Linked DNA regions of Homo sapiens: regions 1, 2 and 3 are each linked to region 4. The links are contacts of gene promoters, found by promoter capture Hi-C in human tissues and cell types (Jung and others, 2019). All regions are on one chromosome and are shown on one strand. The core of a region is centred on a gene start or on the middle of the fragment in contact, and the rest is flanking DNA. Distances in the headings are between cores, read along the strand shown. Region 1 holds the start of RCCD1 (RCC1 domain containing 1). Region 2 holds the start of FURIN (furin, paired basic amino acid cleaving enzyme). Region 3 holds the start of PRC1 (protein regulator of cytokinesis 1). Region 4 overlaps GDPGP1 (GDP-D-glucose phosphorylase 1).

Evidence for each region. The method cuts DNA at HindIII sites, captures the fragments that hold promoters and counts their contacts. A contact is called where the count stands out against the background at its distance.
Region 1: the fragment with the promoter of RCCD1 here is called in contact with a fragment that was not itself captured in region 4 in 1 of the 25 tissues and cell types used here (spleen).
Region 2: the fragment with the promoter of FURIN here is called in contact with a fragment that was not itself captured in region 4 in 1 of the 25 tissues and cell types used here (spleen).
Region 3: the fragment with the promoter of PRC1 here is called in contact with a fragment that was not itself captured in region 4 in 2 of the 25 tissues and cell types used here (aorta and spleen).

The regions. Positions count from the first base shown.
Region 1 is chr15:90,953,417-90,956,788 of GRCh38, reverse strand. RCCD1 (RCC1 domain containing 1) reads right to left here and starts at 1,905. Exons shown (of 8, transcript NM_001017919.2): 1 at 1,841-1,905; 2 at 1-177. The coding sequence starts at 54. It overlaps UNC45A (unc-45 myosin chaperone A), which reads right to left. Exons shown (of 20, transcript NM_018671.5): 20 at 2,696-3,330. The coding sequence ends at 3,073. RCCD1-AS1 (RCCD1 and UNC45A antisense RNA 1) reads left to right here and starts at 2,296. Exons shown (of 2, transcript NR_170325.1): 1 at 2,296-2,454. RefSeq lists silencers at 1-178, 1,409-1,538 and enhancers at 1,759-1,868, 1,669-2,223, 3,048-3,372. The HindIII fragment of the contact is 8,803 bases long and covers 1-3,372 here.
Region 2 is chr15:90,867,171-90,870,392 of GRCh38, reverse strand. FURIN (furin, paired basic amino acid cleaving enzyme) reads right to left here and starts at 1,805. Exons shown (of 16, transcript NM_002569.4): 1 at 1,682-1,805. RefSeq lists enhancers at 340-634, 572-681, 420-714, 782-831, 74-1,273. The HindIII fragment of the contact is 14,305 bases long and covers 1-3,222 here.
Region 3 is chr15:90,992,855-90,996,074 of GRCh38, reverse strand. PRC1 (protein regulator of cytokinesis 1) reads left to right here and starts at 1,540. Exons shown (of 15, transcript NM_003981.4): 1 at 1,540-1,668. The coding sequence starts at 1,658. It overlaps LOC124903556 (a long non-coding RNA gene), which reads right to left and starts at 1,296. Exons shown (of 2, transcript XR_007064759.1): 1 at 1,140-1,296. RefSeq lists enhancers at 500-1,366, 1,367-2,234 and a silencer at 1,784-2,003. The HindIII fragment of the contact is 8,571 bases long and covers 1-3,220 here.
Region 4 is chr15:90,239,752-90,243,002 of GRCh38, reverse strand. It overlaps GDPGP1 (GDP-D-glucose phosphorylase 1), which reads right to left. Exons shown (of 4, transcript NM_001013657.3): 4 at 1-2,103. The coding sequence starts at 2,094. The coding sequence ends at 937. It also overlaps a transcript of CIB1 not described here. Among named protein-coding and RNA genes, the nearest start is that of GDPGP1, 7.2 kb to the right of the region's middle. The HindIII fragment of the contact is 7,306 bases long and covers 1-3,251 here.

The sequences.
Region 1 (3,372 bases), core at 656-3,155, 710 kb before region 4:
CCCGAAGCCGCAGAAACCGAAGCCGAACCAGGCCCCCGGCCGCTCCTCCGCCATGCCCGAGCAGCGCCCTCTGCCGGCCGCCGCCTGGCTGCGGCGGGCCCGGGGGGATTCTTGCGAAGAGCCCGCTAGTGGGACACTGGCAAGTCTCTGGCCTTCCAGGGGCTGGAGCTGCCTTATCTGTAAAATGGAGAAACTATCATTCTCCCGACCACAAAGGCAGAGTCCGTGCCACGAAGGTTCGCTGAGCAGGCGCCCTGACTAATGCCCTACCGGATTTACAAAGATGCTCAAATATTTAGAGGCACTTTCCCTGTCCTCCCTTTTGGCTCAAGCTCAGCGTGCCACAAAGTGGGTACGAAGTGGCCTGTCCTTTAGGCATTGGACTAGGATCCGAGCGCCCCCGACACCCCCACCCCGTCCCGCAGCTTCCCAGCATCTGGCACTTTATCCCATGTAATCTTGGGAACCAAAATGGTCGTTTTACAGAGGAGATTCTGAGACAAAGTAACCCTTACACACTCATACAGCCAGACAGAGAGGGGCAGAGCGCTGAAATCAGGTCCCACCAACTCCACACACAGTGCTCTGCCCCTCTCCCCACAGCGGAACGCAGAAGAGCGTTTGGGAGGCAGTGCCTCTGCAACTCAGCGGGGCCTTGGGACCGCAGCCAATCCACCTGAGTCCAACTGCGTTTCTTCAGTTTACAAAGGGAGGTGGGGGCGGTGCTGTTTGAACCTTCCTCACAGAATTGTAATAAATGCAAATAAAGGGTTTGGTGCGAGTACATGCCATGATAAACACACAGTATTAGCTTACTGAATCCAGTATTTAGTGTTGACAAAAAAATTATCCCTGGACATCTTACTGGTTTTGAGAAACTTATACAGACAGAATTTCAACTGTACCTTATCTAGCCATTTATTCGTCCAGCGAGCATTTACTGAGCGCTCCTCCTCTGCCAGTGAGGACAGCTGTCTGCTCCCAAGGAGCTAACCGTTAAATGGGGAGACAAACAGTCTGGTGGTTACAACAGCAACGCCAACTTCAAGCAGATTCGGCTGGAGCGGGTTTGTTTTTTTTTTTTTTTAATATAATAGAGACAGGGGTCTCGCTATGCTGCCCAGGCTGGTCTCAAATTCCTGGGCTCGAGTGATCCGCCCGCCTCGGCCTCCCAAAGCGTTGGGATTACAGGCGTGAGCCGCTGCACCCGGGCTGAAGCAGAATTGCATGGGCATTTTCAGGCCTCTTAAGTCAGATCCTGGGTCTCTCCTGAGACCCCAGTTCCTGGGCTCCTAACCCCTTCCGTGTCCTCTCCCAACCCAAGGGGGCCTCTGACCTTGATCTTGACCCTATGCCCTCTACCCTCTCGGGCAGGTCCTTCTGGTGGGCAGCCTTGGAGGAAACGCCGAGGCGCAGAGCGGCCGCCTCCGGAAAGGCCTCCCGCCCAGCGGGCGCCGACAGCCACGGGGAGAAAAGGTTTGAAGGGCGCGCGGCGCGAGGCGGCCAATCACCAGCAAGGGCGGTGACGTCGCCGCCCGGGGCGCGGCGGCCGCAGCCCTGTTCAACTCCCCTTGAGGGCCTCTCCGGTCCCGAGGCCTACGCCGGGGCCCTGCGGCCCGGTCTGTGAAATGGGCTGAAACCTCCGAGGGGCGTTGGACCAAGGCCCTGGAGGAAACCGGGGGCGTTGGACCAAGGCAGAGGTTGGGCCAGGTGGTCCCGCCCCTGCAGGAACCCGTGGGGCTGGAGCTCGGATTAGAACCACAGAGAGGACATTCATTAAGACTTGAGCTAAAGGTTTGGCGAGGAGTGACGCCCAAGACGGGCGGACCCCGCCACCCACCTCAGTCCCGGGACCGCGGCAGCTCAAAACCCGACACGCGCCGGACTCATGCCCCAACAGGAAGCAGCTTTTACCTTCCACGGATTGGCTCAGGACCCGTCACGTGCCTCTGTCGAGCCAACGAGCCTCACGCTGGGCTTAGCCCTCCTCGAACGTGCTGGGGTGGTGGGCGGGGCCCAAGCCGCCCTTCAACCAGGCTCAGCTGGCCACCAACCCCAACCCCCGCCCCAGCGCCCTCAGCGGAGGCCACAGAGGACTCCCAATATAAAGACAAACGTACTGAAGGCCCAGCATATGGGAGTCTCTACCCTAAACGACTTATTTCTTGGGATAGTTTAATATTTTTTGAGATAGGGTCTCGCTGTGTCGCCCAGGCGACACTTTGGGAGGCTGCGCTCTGGGCTCACTGCAACCTTCGCCTACCGAGTAGCTGGGATTACAGGTGCATGCCGCCACACTCTGCTCTTTTTTTTTTTTTTTTTTTTTTTTTGGTATTTTTATAGAGAAAGAGTTTTGCTTGTTGCCCAGGCTGGTCTCGAACCCCTGACTTCAAGTGATCCACCTGCCTCAGCCTCCCAAAGCGCTGGGATTACAAGCTTGAGGCACCGCACCTGGTGAGTTTCTTATTGATTAGCTTCCTAGGCTTACCCTTTGTCCCTCCAGTAGGATTAAGAAGCAACTCAGTGGGCCCTGGTTGGGGAATCCATTGGATTCCTTCCATGGAGGTGGGTCTGCCACTGTGAAGCTCCGTTGCACACTCACCCACGCCCAGCTCACACCCATACTCACCCACACTCACCCACTCAGAGACTCCCACTCACAGCAGCCCTCCCTGCCCAAGGACAGGGCACACAGTGGAGTTCTACACACTTTTATTGGAGGGGCAGGCCTGATAGCAGGCTCACAGCTGGTGAGGCTGCTGATGTGTGCGCCCTTCCAGATGCCCCAGGATCCACAGGCTGTGTTGGGATGCACCTTCCCCATTCCCAGCTGACTACAGTAGTACAGAAAAAGGGCCCCTCTGAGTGAGGCTGCAGGCAGTGCTGGCCAAGCAGGGCTGTGTGACTGAACGTGGCCGCTGACTCAGAACAGAGGACATCCTAGGGCAGCAAGCGAGGATGGGCAAGAGTATTGGGCATGCCAGCCACCACCAGCCAAAGCTGCTTCCGTCCTTACTCTCCGTGCCACAATAGGTAGCGTGTGCATGAGCCTTGGGCCCAGGGACAACCCCCTCACTCTCCATCTTGGTTGGGTTGGATAAGCCCATATTCCACTGCTTTGTCCAGGCAGGCTGCAGCAGCCCTTGTGACAGGGCTGTGGTCACCCTTAGCTAGCACTGACAAGATCTCCATCATCTCACTCTCCATCAGGGTGCTGGCAATCTCCCTCGAGGCCTCCACCATGTTCAGCACCACCACAGCACCCCGGTGCTGCAGCTCCTGGTTGGAGCTCAGAAGCAGGGCCTGCAGGATCTCCAGCCAGTGTGTGGTCTGTGAGAAAAACAGGGTAGATATGACCCCTGGGCAACAGGC
Region 2 (3,222 bases), core at 556-3,055, 630 kb before region 4:
CCCATGAGGTGGGTACAGTACATTTTCCTTTAAGTACCTTTGATGTATCACTGTCTGCATTTTATAGAGGAGGAAACTGAGGCCCAGAGAGGTTAAATCATGATAATTCTTAAGGCAACTGGTGAAAAATCAATCAGCAAACCGGTTCAAATCCCTGGGGCACTATTTTTTGCTGGGACACCTTAGACAAGTTAATTTCTCAGGGACTTCCTCAATTTACCCCTCTATAAAATGGAGATAATATTTAGTGAATGGGATCAGGTACGATTCGGGCACCTTTACAAACACTGCAAGAACTGGAAACTGGAGGAACAATGCTGGGTCCTCAAAGTTGAGCGGGAAGATAAGTCCAGTTGGCCTTGTCCCAAAGTGGGGACTTCCCCTCCGCCAAGGAACTAAGACTTGTAGGGGCCACACTGGGTAGCGCCAGCCACAGTTGGGAGAACAATACTCCAGCAGTCAGACTGAGGCAGGAAGTGACTCACGCTTCTTCCTTAGGCTGTGAGCAAGAGAACTCCATTGAGGGGAAACAGGGACAGGGCTGGCCCCACCTACCCACTTGTCCTCAGGCCTAGAAGAAAGGTCAGCCCAGAAAAATAGCAATACTTGCTGCTTCAGGTGCCCCACCCATCCTGGAGACTGGCCCCAGGGGAGCCCGCAGTGGGTCTTTGGAGGGGGAGGGGCTAGCCTAGGCTCAGATGACTGCCACCCAGGCAGAGGCGGTGGGAAGTGGAGCTTCCCAGTTTCTTCCAGCCAGCTTGCCTCTTCAATCTGCATAAGGCAAAATTCTTTAAAGTGGGTTCTCAGAGGTGCCTCCCTGAGAGGGAGGAATGAGGACAGGATTGGGCAGTTGAGCACCTCTCTCTGCTTCACCCAGAGTGTCTCACATTTTAGGGTTTCACATGAGATTGTATTTTACAACAATTCTGCTGCTAAAAAGAATTTGAAAGCCACTCTCTGTGAGACTTCTCTGGAAAAAAATCCCATTTGACCACAACTGGTGACTTCTGCCTTTATCTCATTGCAACAAGTCCTGTGGGCAGGTATTGTTCTCTTTATCACTCTCAACTGGCCCTGGAGCCCAGGTCTCCTGACCTGGGGCCCTAGGGGCCCAAGGTCCTCTGGATCCCACCTTACCAGTTTTACACAGCAGTTAGCAGGACTTGGGCATGTGACAGAAGTCTGGAGATGAGTGAGAGGAGCAGGGCCTGATGGGTAAGTGGGGGCTGTAAAGGGGCTCCATTTTCCCAGCAGGGCTCTGGGAGGAAGAGTCCAGCTAGGCCTCTCTTTATCCTTGATTTGGGGCTAATCCAGAGAGGCTCCTGAGAATCACATAGTCCTAAATCCACCCAGTCATCCTGACTCCAAGCACTCCTGTTGTCTCCTTGGGGTGCTCTGGGAGTCTTCTCTGAAATCTCTGGTCCACCTCAGGCACAGCAAATAAAGCCTTCGGCAGCAGCACCCACACCTAGTTGTAAGCAGAATGTCTACACAACATTCAGACGTGCATAGAAGGGTGCACAACAAAATTCCATTGGTGTTCTCTCCGAATGAAAGGGTCACATTTGCGATCTTTGTTTTCTTCTTTTTGCCTACCTGCATTTTTCAGGAATGTCTACAAGAACTCCTAAAATAATTAAACCTTTAAGTCAATGCAAAATCGAATAAAGCATGTCCATACTTCACCATCCAGCTCCAGAGCACCTGGGATTCATCCTGGCCGCTGCTGCTTCCCCGCCACTCACTGCAGCTGCAACAGTCAGGCTCCTATCCCTTCACAGGGCGGGGCCCTTCCAGTTCTGGCTAAACCACTTTGGGAAAACCTTCTTTATATGACAGGCAAACAGGGTGTCTGTGGGTGGGGGGAGGAGCTAAAAGTGATGTGGTGGTGACATATCTGGTCGCACTGGAACTGGATCCTAACATGGCCAGCCAGCCCTTCTCATTTTCCTCATTTATTGGGGTGGGTCTGCACTTACCTTCTGCCTGGCTTTGCTGCATCCCAGCCACTGGCTGACTTAATGACTTCCTTCCGCCAGCTCCAGCTCCTTGTGTTCTGCCTTGCCTTCCATGGCCAGCCAGTGCTGCCACAATTATGTACCTAATAAATGCTTTGGGTGCAGTCTCGCCTGGCAGACATTCATTGAGCAGCTGCTGAACGCTGGGCTCTGGTGCCCCATAGCTGGGTCCCTTAGAGCTTGTCCATAGGAAGCCAGAGACCACCTCTCTAGTAGGGTTGCATGGAGGTACCTGGGACACACCAGGGTCTTCCTCAGTCTGCGACCTCCCTGGCCTTCCAGCTTCAACAAGCCTGCTGCCCATCCTTCTCTCTCTCGATTCAGAAATGTGAATCACTCAATCCTCATAGTTTTTTTTGTTTGTTTGTTTTATGGGTTTGTTTTTTTTTTTTCTAGACAAGAGTCTCGCTCTGTTGCCCAGGCTGGAATGCAATGGCCTGATCACAGCTCACTGCAACCTCTGCCTTCTGGGTTCAGGCGATTCTCATGCTTCAGCCTCCCAAGTAGCTGGGATTACAGGCTTACGCCACTCGTATTTTTTTTTTTTTTTTTTGTATTTTTAGTAGAGATGGGGTTTTGCCATGTTGGCCAGGCTGGTCTCGCACTCCTGACCTTAAGTGATACACCCACCTCGGCCTCCCTAAGTGCTGGGATTATTAGGCGTGAGCCACCACGCCCGGTCCCCTTGTTGAGTTTTCAATCAGTTTGTCATCCTGAACAGGGTTTCTCAACCTTGGCATTATCAACATCTTGGGTCGGATAATTCTCTGTAGGGGACACTGCACTCTACATTGCAGGATGTTCAGTCGCATCCCTAGTCACTAAACATTAGCTGCTAGTAGCATTCCCGCTCCCATGATGACAACCAAAAAGATCTCCAGGTATTGCCAAATGTCCCTTGGGAGACAAAAATCTCTCCCAGCAAAGAACCACTGTCGCAGAATGAGGAGTGGGAACGTCACAGGATGGTGGTTAGTGTGCCAGGGTTCGAGGCAGCAAGAGTTGTCTGCTGGGAACTAAGCTCTGAGACAGCTAGCAGTGAGGGAGAAAACTCCCAAACTTGAAACTGCCCAGTATGCCAGCACAACAATGGGCCGTTTAGTGATCAGGGCAAACAATCATGCATCCTCATGACATCTGAGATCACTTTCCATCGTGTTGGTGATAATGCTGAATCAAGGAAAGGATCAATCATGTTGATCAT
Region 3 (3,220 bases), core at 291-2,790, 750 kb before region 4:
GCCGAGGCAGGCGGATCACCTGAGGTCAGGAGTTCAAGACCAGCCTGGCCAACATGGCAAAACCCCGTCTCTATTAAAAATACAAAAAAAAAAAGTATCCAGGCATGGTGGTGCGTGCCTGTAGTCCCAGCTACTCGGGAAGCTGAGGCACAAGAATTGCTTGAACCCAGGTAGCGGAGGTTGCAGTGAGCTGAGATTGGGCCACTGCACTACAGCCTGGGTGACAGAGCGAGACTCCGTCTCAATTAAAAAAAGTAAAAAGAACATTGAAAGCACTAATGAAGTTTTTCTGAAAATAAGAAAAATATGGTTCTGAAGGTGAAGCAAACAAGCATCCTTTACCTTTAGGGAAAAGGCATATGAAGAGGATTCACTTAAGTTACAGTTGGCCAATAAACACGAAAAATGTGCAATTTCAATTATAATCAAGTGCCAAACAAGGAAATGCCAGTATTATTATTTTACCTACAAAATGAGCAAAGATGTTTAGAAGTACAATAGAATTCAGCCCTGCTGAGGGTAACAAAAGGAGGGTACTTTTCCGGTGAGGCTTTGTGCAGAAGGCAAATTAATAAAGGGAGCATTCAGTAATTACACCTCTAGGAATCAGCCGTACGAAAATGCAGGATGCATTTATAAATACATACATACACAAAGATTTATGTATGAAGATATTCAGCCCAGCCTTATCTTTTAAATTATCATCTAAATATCAATAGCAGAATGGGCGAGATATCTACACACCAGGATTCATGCCACCATGCCACCATGAATCACTGGGAAAAAACGGTGATATATAAGCATTTAGGGATGTAACATGTTCATCGAGGAAAGGAGGCTACAAAAGTAATGTCTATTTTGAGTTTTAAATTTTTCATGTAACGATTTAGAAACTCATCTAATTTGATAACGTGACTTAGGCAAATCATTCAAATCTTTTTGCGTTTCCTCTGCAATGGCGATTGTGGAGGTTAAATGGGATAACTGGCGTTGAAACGTTCCAGGCCCATGAGCAGGACTCAATGTTCCTTCCCTTCCCCTTTAGTGTATGGCTTCTTACATCTGGGGAAGAGTCCCACCAAAGATCGATTCCAAGCTTCGCTTCTTGGATGAGCGAGGGAAACTAGGCGCTAACTTACCTATTCACCCCCGCGCCCGTTCCCGGCAGCCGGGACTCAGGGAAGCCAGGTAGCCGCGGTGCTCTCAACTCCCTCCCCGCCCGCGCACTTCGAATCCAAACTGCGCGGGGCGAGGCGGGGCGGCGCTCCGATGAGGTAGCTGGCTTGGGAGAGGAGTCCCTTGAGGCTGCCGCCAAGCCAGGGAAGCGGGAGGCGCAGGCCACGCCCGGCCACTCACAGACAGTGACGTCATCCCCCGCCGCCACTCCGGCGCTTCCCAGGCCCTGCTCGCGAGTCCCCACCCCGATTGCGCACCCGCGACTTCAGCCCGAGGGGCGGGGATTTTCTTGGAGCGACGGGACGCGACGCCAATCGCGACGAGGCTTCGCCCCGTGGCGCGGTTTGAAATTTTGCGGGGCTCAACGGCTCGCGGAGCGGCTACGCGGAGTGACATCGCCGGTGTTTGCGGGTGGTTGTTGCTCTCGGGGCCGTGTGGAGTAGGTCTGGACCTGGACTCACGGCTGCTTGGAGCGTCCGCCATGAGGAGAAGGTGCGGGTTGCGGGGAAATCGAGGGGACGCGGGAGGGAGCGACGCTCGTTTCGGCTGCGGGGCCTGTTCAGGGGTGCGGGACCCGTGCGGGGTCCCGGGCCTAGATCGTCACGGCAGTCGGCGCCGAGGGAGGCCGGGGGCGCTGAGGGGCAGGGTCTGGAGGCGGCGAGCCAGTGCGAGGGCCGCGGCGGTGAGACCTGACGCGCTGTCCGCCGGCGGCCGCAGGTGCCCGCAGGCTCAGACGCCCGGGTGGGAGCCGAGCGCCGGTGCCCGGACGCGGCAGGGTAGTCGAGGCCCGGGGCCCGGGGCGGCCTCCACCCAGGCGGTCAGCGCTGGCGCTCGGACCCCACCCTCCCCGCCCGCAGCGTCTCAGGTGCCGCTGCTTGGCGCAGATGACTCGTTGTAAACCTTCTGTGGTCGTGGCTTTTCTTTAAAGCTGTTAAGTTTATTTATCGTTGTTTTTCTTTGTTTTATTCTTTTTTTTTATTTTTGTGGAAACGCGGTCTATGTTGGCCAGGCTGGTCTCGAACTCCTGGCTTCAAGTAATCCTGCCACCTCGGCCTCCCAAAGTGTTGGGATTACAGGCGTGAGCCACCGTGCCCGGCCCGTTGTTTTTCTTTATATCTGGCCAGCGGTGTTAACGTTTTGTTTGAATTGGAAAGATAGCTTTGTTTCTTTGCAAGTTAAGAAACGGATTATGGAATTCTTTTCCGGTCGTTTTAATAACTTCCTAGGCGGTGTTGGGGAGGGACTGTCCGACTTGAAATCGGGACCAGACGGTGACACTGCCACTTACCAACCTTGTGACTTCCAAATATTAACTTTATTTTCTAAAAGTTGTGGATGCAGTTTTCTGATGATACAGCGTTAAATAATGTGTAGTTTTTGGTGGAACTGATTGTTCTAAGGCTTTGTAAGATTCTTCATTTCATGATCACTAATTCTGATCAGTCTTTTTAAAATGCTTGCCCTCAGAATAATGAGAATTGAGTGCCAACATGGTAAAACCTTGTCTTAACTAAAAATACAAAAATTATCTGGCCCTGGTGGCGCGCCTGTACCCCCAGCTTTTCAGGAGGCTGAGGCAGGAGAATCGCTTCAGCCTAGGAGGCAGAGGTTGCATGAGCCGACATCTCGACACTGCACTCCAGCCTAGGCGACAGAGTGAGACTACGTCTCAAAAAAAAAAAAAAAAGTCCATTAACAGTTTATGAATTATGTAGGCATCTCCTCTATCAAGGGATTGAATGAAGCAGGAGAAAACTTACCCTTTAATGTTGGTTCCAGGCTAATGGATATAATTAACTTTTTTTTTTTTTTTTTTTTTTTTTTTTTTGAGACGGGGTCTCACTCTGTCGCCCAGGCTGGAGTGTAGTGGCGAGATTGCTCACTGCAGCTTTGACCTCTGAGGCTCAAACGAAACTCTGGCCAGAATTAATTATGGTTATCGATCCCCGAAACAGGTTGAACTGGAGATCAACAAAGCTCCTTCTCTGGAATGCTAAGAAAAAATAGGGCAGTGGATCAGTGAAGGCTGCCTGAAGGTAGAAAA
Region 4 (3,251 bases), core at 752-3,251:
AGAGGTAGCAGATACATTCATGATGTCTTACTCAGTAGAATTATTCCAGATTTTCTCCCCTTTAAAGAGACCACTATCAGCTCCCCTTTAAAGAGACCATTATCTTTCTCCCCTTTAAGAGATCATTATCAGCTTTCTTCATCCTTCTTCTTAGGCTGAGACAGGTGAGAAGGCAGCCATGAAAATAAATGTCCAAAGGACTATGATGGACAGTGCTCTGGAAAGGGACTCATCAGGTAGAAAATGAATACATCCTGGCTGGGTGTGGTGGCTCACGCCTGTAATCCCAGCACTTTGGGAGGCCGAGGCGGGCGGATCACCTAAAGTCAGGAGTTCAAGACCAGCCTAGCCAATGTGGTGAAACCCCTTCTCTTTTAAAAATACAAAAAAATTAGCCGGGTTTGGTGGCAGGAGCCTGTATAGTCCCAGCTACTCGGGAGGCTGAGCCAGGAGGATCACTCGAACCCTAGAGGTGGAGGTTGCAGTGAGCCGAGATTGTACCAGTGCACCCCAACCTAGGTGACAGAGCGAGACTATCTCAAAAAAAAAAAAAAAAAAAAAAAAAAAAAAAGAAACAGAAAAGAATCCAGGGGCTCACTCCTGTCATCTCAGTACTTTGGGAGGCCGAGGTGGGAGGACTGCTTCAGCCCAAGAGTTCAAGACCAGCCTGGGCAACATGGTGAAACGCTGTCTATATAAAAAAATACAAAATCACCTAATCGTTAAAAAAAAAAAAAAAAAAAAAAAAAGCCAGGTGTGTGGTGGTGCACGCCTATAGTCTCAGCTACTCAAGAGGCTGAGGTGGGAGGATCACTTCAGCCCCAGAGGTGGAGGCTACAGTGAGCCAGGATCATACCACTACACTCTAGCCTGGGGACAGAGTGAGACCCTATCTCAAAAGAAAAGAAAAAAAGAACATAAATACATCCAGAAGTATTATTGCTCTTCCTGGGACATCAGGGCCACCAGTGCTGCCTGTACGTCTTCTGCCTGGGATGGGGGCAGCCGACAGTCCTGAATGAGGGCCACAGCAGCTGCCTCTGTCAGGCTGCTGAAGTCCTGGGATGTTTTGACAGGGAGGTGCCCAGCCAGCTCACAGAGGGCAACATTGAAAGCTTCACCGTCCTTTATCCCAAAGCTGGACTTCCGGGCCCACAGAATTACTCGGACCCCTGTGAGGGCTGAGGAAGGTGATGTCTTTCCCGGCGGAGCTCCCCGGGTGACAAACAAGTTATGAGCAATCTCATGGTCAGTCAGATAATCAGTGGCCCGACATACCCTGCTTATCAAGGACTCCAAGTCAGGCCCTGGCCCACGAGTGTAAAAGAGGAAGCCAGGAGCTGGGAGGTCCTGGAGCAGATGCAAATGGCCTCCAGGGTCCAGGGGCTCGCTTGGCGCCTGCTCCACGGGCAGTCTGTGGGCCAGGTAATAGCCATGCAGGTGGAGGTGGTTCACCGAGGCCAAGCCTCCCAGGCTGTTGAAGCCGACACGGAAGCCCGGGTGTAAGCTCAGCAGCACAGCCTCAATCCCTGCCCTCAGTGCACCCGGCAGCAGGCGCTGGGGGAGCTGGCGGGCAGGCTCAGGCACCAGCAGCACGTGGCCCCACTCCAGGGGGCTGACGTTGATCACCACCAGGATGTCTTCTTGCAGCAGAGTCCCAGGGAGATCAGGCTCCCGGTGCAAACGGAAGAGGACTTCTCCGGGCCGGATCTTGTTGAAGTTGAACTGTACAGGGTCAAATGCCTGCCTCACACTCTTGATGGTCTGCGGGGGCCTCCTCTGCACACCACGCTCCACATTCAGCTGAGCCACGAAACCCACAGCACCAGGGAGGATTTGGGTCTGTAGCTCCCGTAGACGGTAGCGAAACAGCCCCAGCTCCACCCGCTGCTTCCAGGCAGAGCAGAGTGCAGCATCAAAGGGAGATTGTGGCAGAGCATCTGGGATGCCAGGTGCATTCCTTGGCCACTGAATCCCTTCTGCCATGAGATCCTTCTGCCCATAAACAAAGTCAGGAATGGTTTGCCTGCCCCAGTCCTCATTGTTGGGAGGCAGCAAATAGGAAGTTTCGTTTGAATCATGTGGAAGAGCCATAGAGCTGACCTGAAATAGTCATAAAAGATGAAAACACATGATGGTAACCCACCTCCAGAGATTGTCATTGTATTTATTTATTTATTTTTTTTTTTGAGATGGAGTCTCACTCTGTCACCCAGGCTGGAGTGCAGTGGCAGTGATCTTGGTTCACTGTAACCTCCGCCTCCTGGGTTCAAGCGGTTCTCCCGCCTCAGCCTCCTGGGCAGCTGGGGTTACAGGCAGGCACCACCATGCCCGGGTAATTTTTGTATTTTTAGTAGAGATGGTGTTTCACCATGTTGGCCAGGCTGGTCTTGAACTCCTGACATCGGGTGATCCCTTTGCCTTGGCCTCCCAAAGTGCTGGGATTACAGGCATGAACCAACATGCACAGCTTATTTATTTATTTTTATTTTTTTGAGACAGAGTCTCACTCTGTTGCCCAGGCTAGAGGGCAGTGGCGCGATCTTGGCTCACTGCAACCTCCACCTCCTGGGTTCAAGTGATTCTCATGCCTCAGCCTCCCAAGCAGCTGGAATTACAGGCACCCGCCACCAGGCCCGGCTAATTTTTGTATTTTTAGTAGAGGCAGGGTTTCACCACATTGGCCAGGCCGGTCTTGAACTCCTGACCTCCGGTGACCCTCCCCTCTCGGCTTCCCAAAGTGCTGGGATTACAGGCCTGAGCCACTGCACCTGGCCTATTTATTTATTTATCACTCTGTCACCCAGGCTGGAGTGCAATGGCGCTATCTTGGCTCACTGCAACCTCTACCTCCCAGGTTCAAGCGATTCTCTGGCCTCAGCCTCCCAAGTAGCTGGGATTATAGGAATGTGCCACCACAGCCAGCTAATTTTGTATTTTTGGTAGAGACAGGGTTTCACCATGTTGGTCTGGCTGGTCTTGAACTCCTGACCTCAGGTGATCCACCCACCTCGGCTTCCCAAAGTGCTGGGATTACAGGTGTGAGCCACTGCGCCCAGCCACGGCCTATTTTATTTTGAAACAGGTTCTCACTCTGTCACCCAGGCAGGAGTGCAGTGGTGCATACATGTCTCCCTGAAGCCTTGACCTCCCAGGCTCAAGGGATTCTTTCACCTCAGCATCCCAAGTATCTGGAACTACAGGCATGTGCCACCAGGCACTGCCGAGATCGCACCATTGCAGTCCAGCCT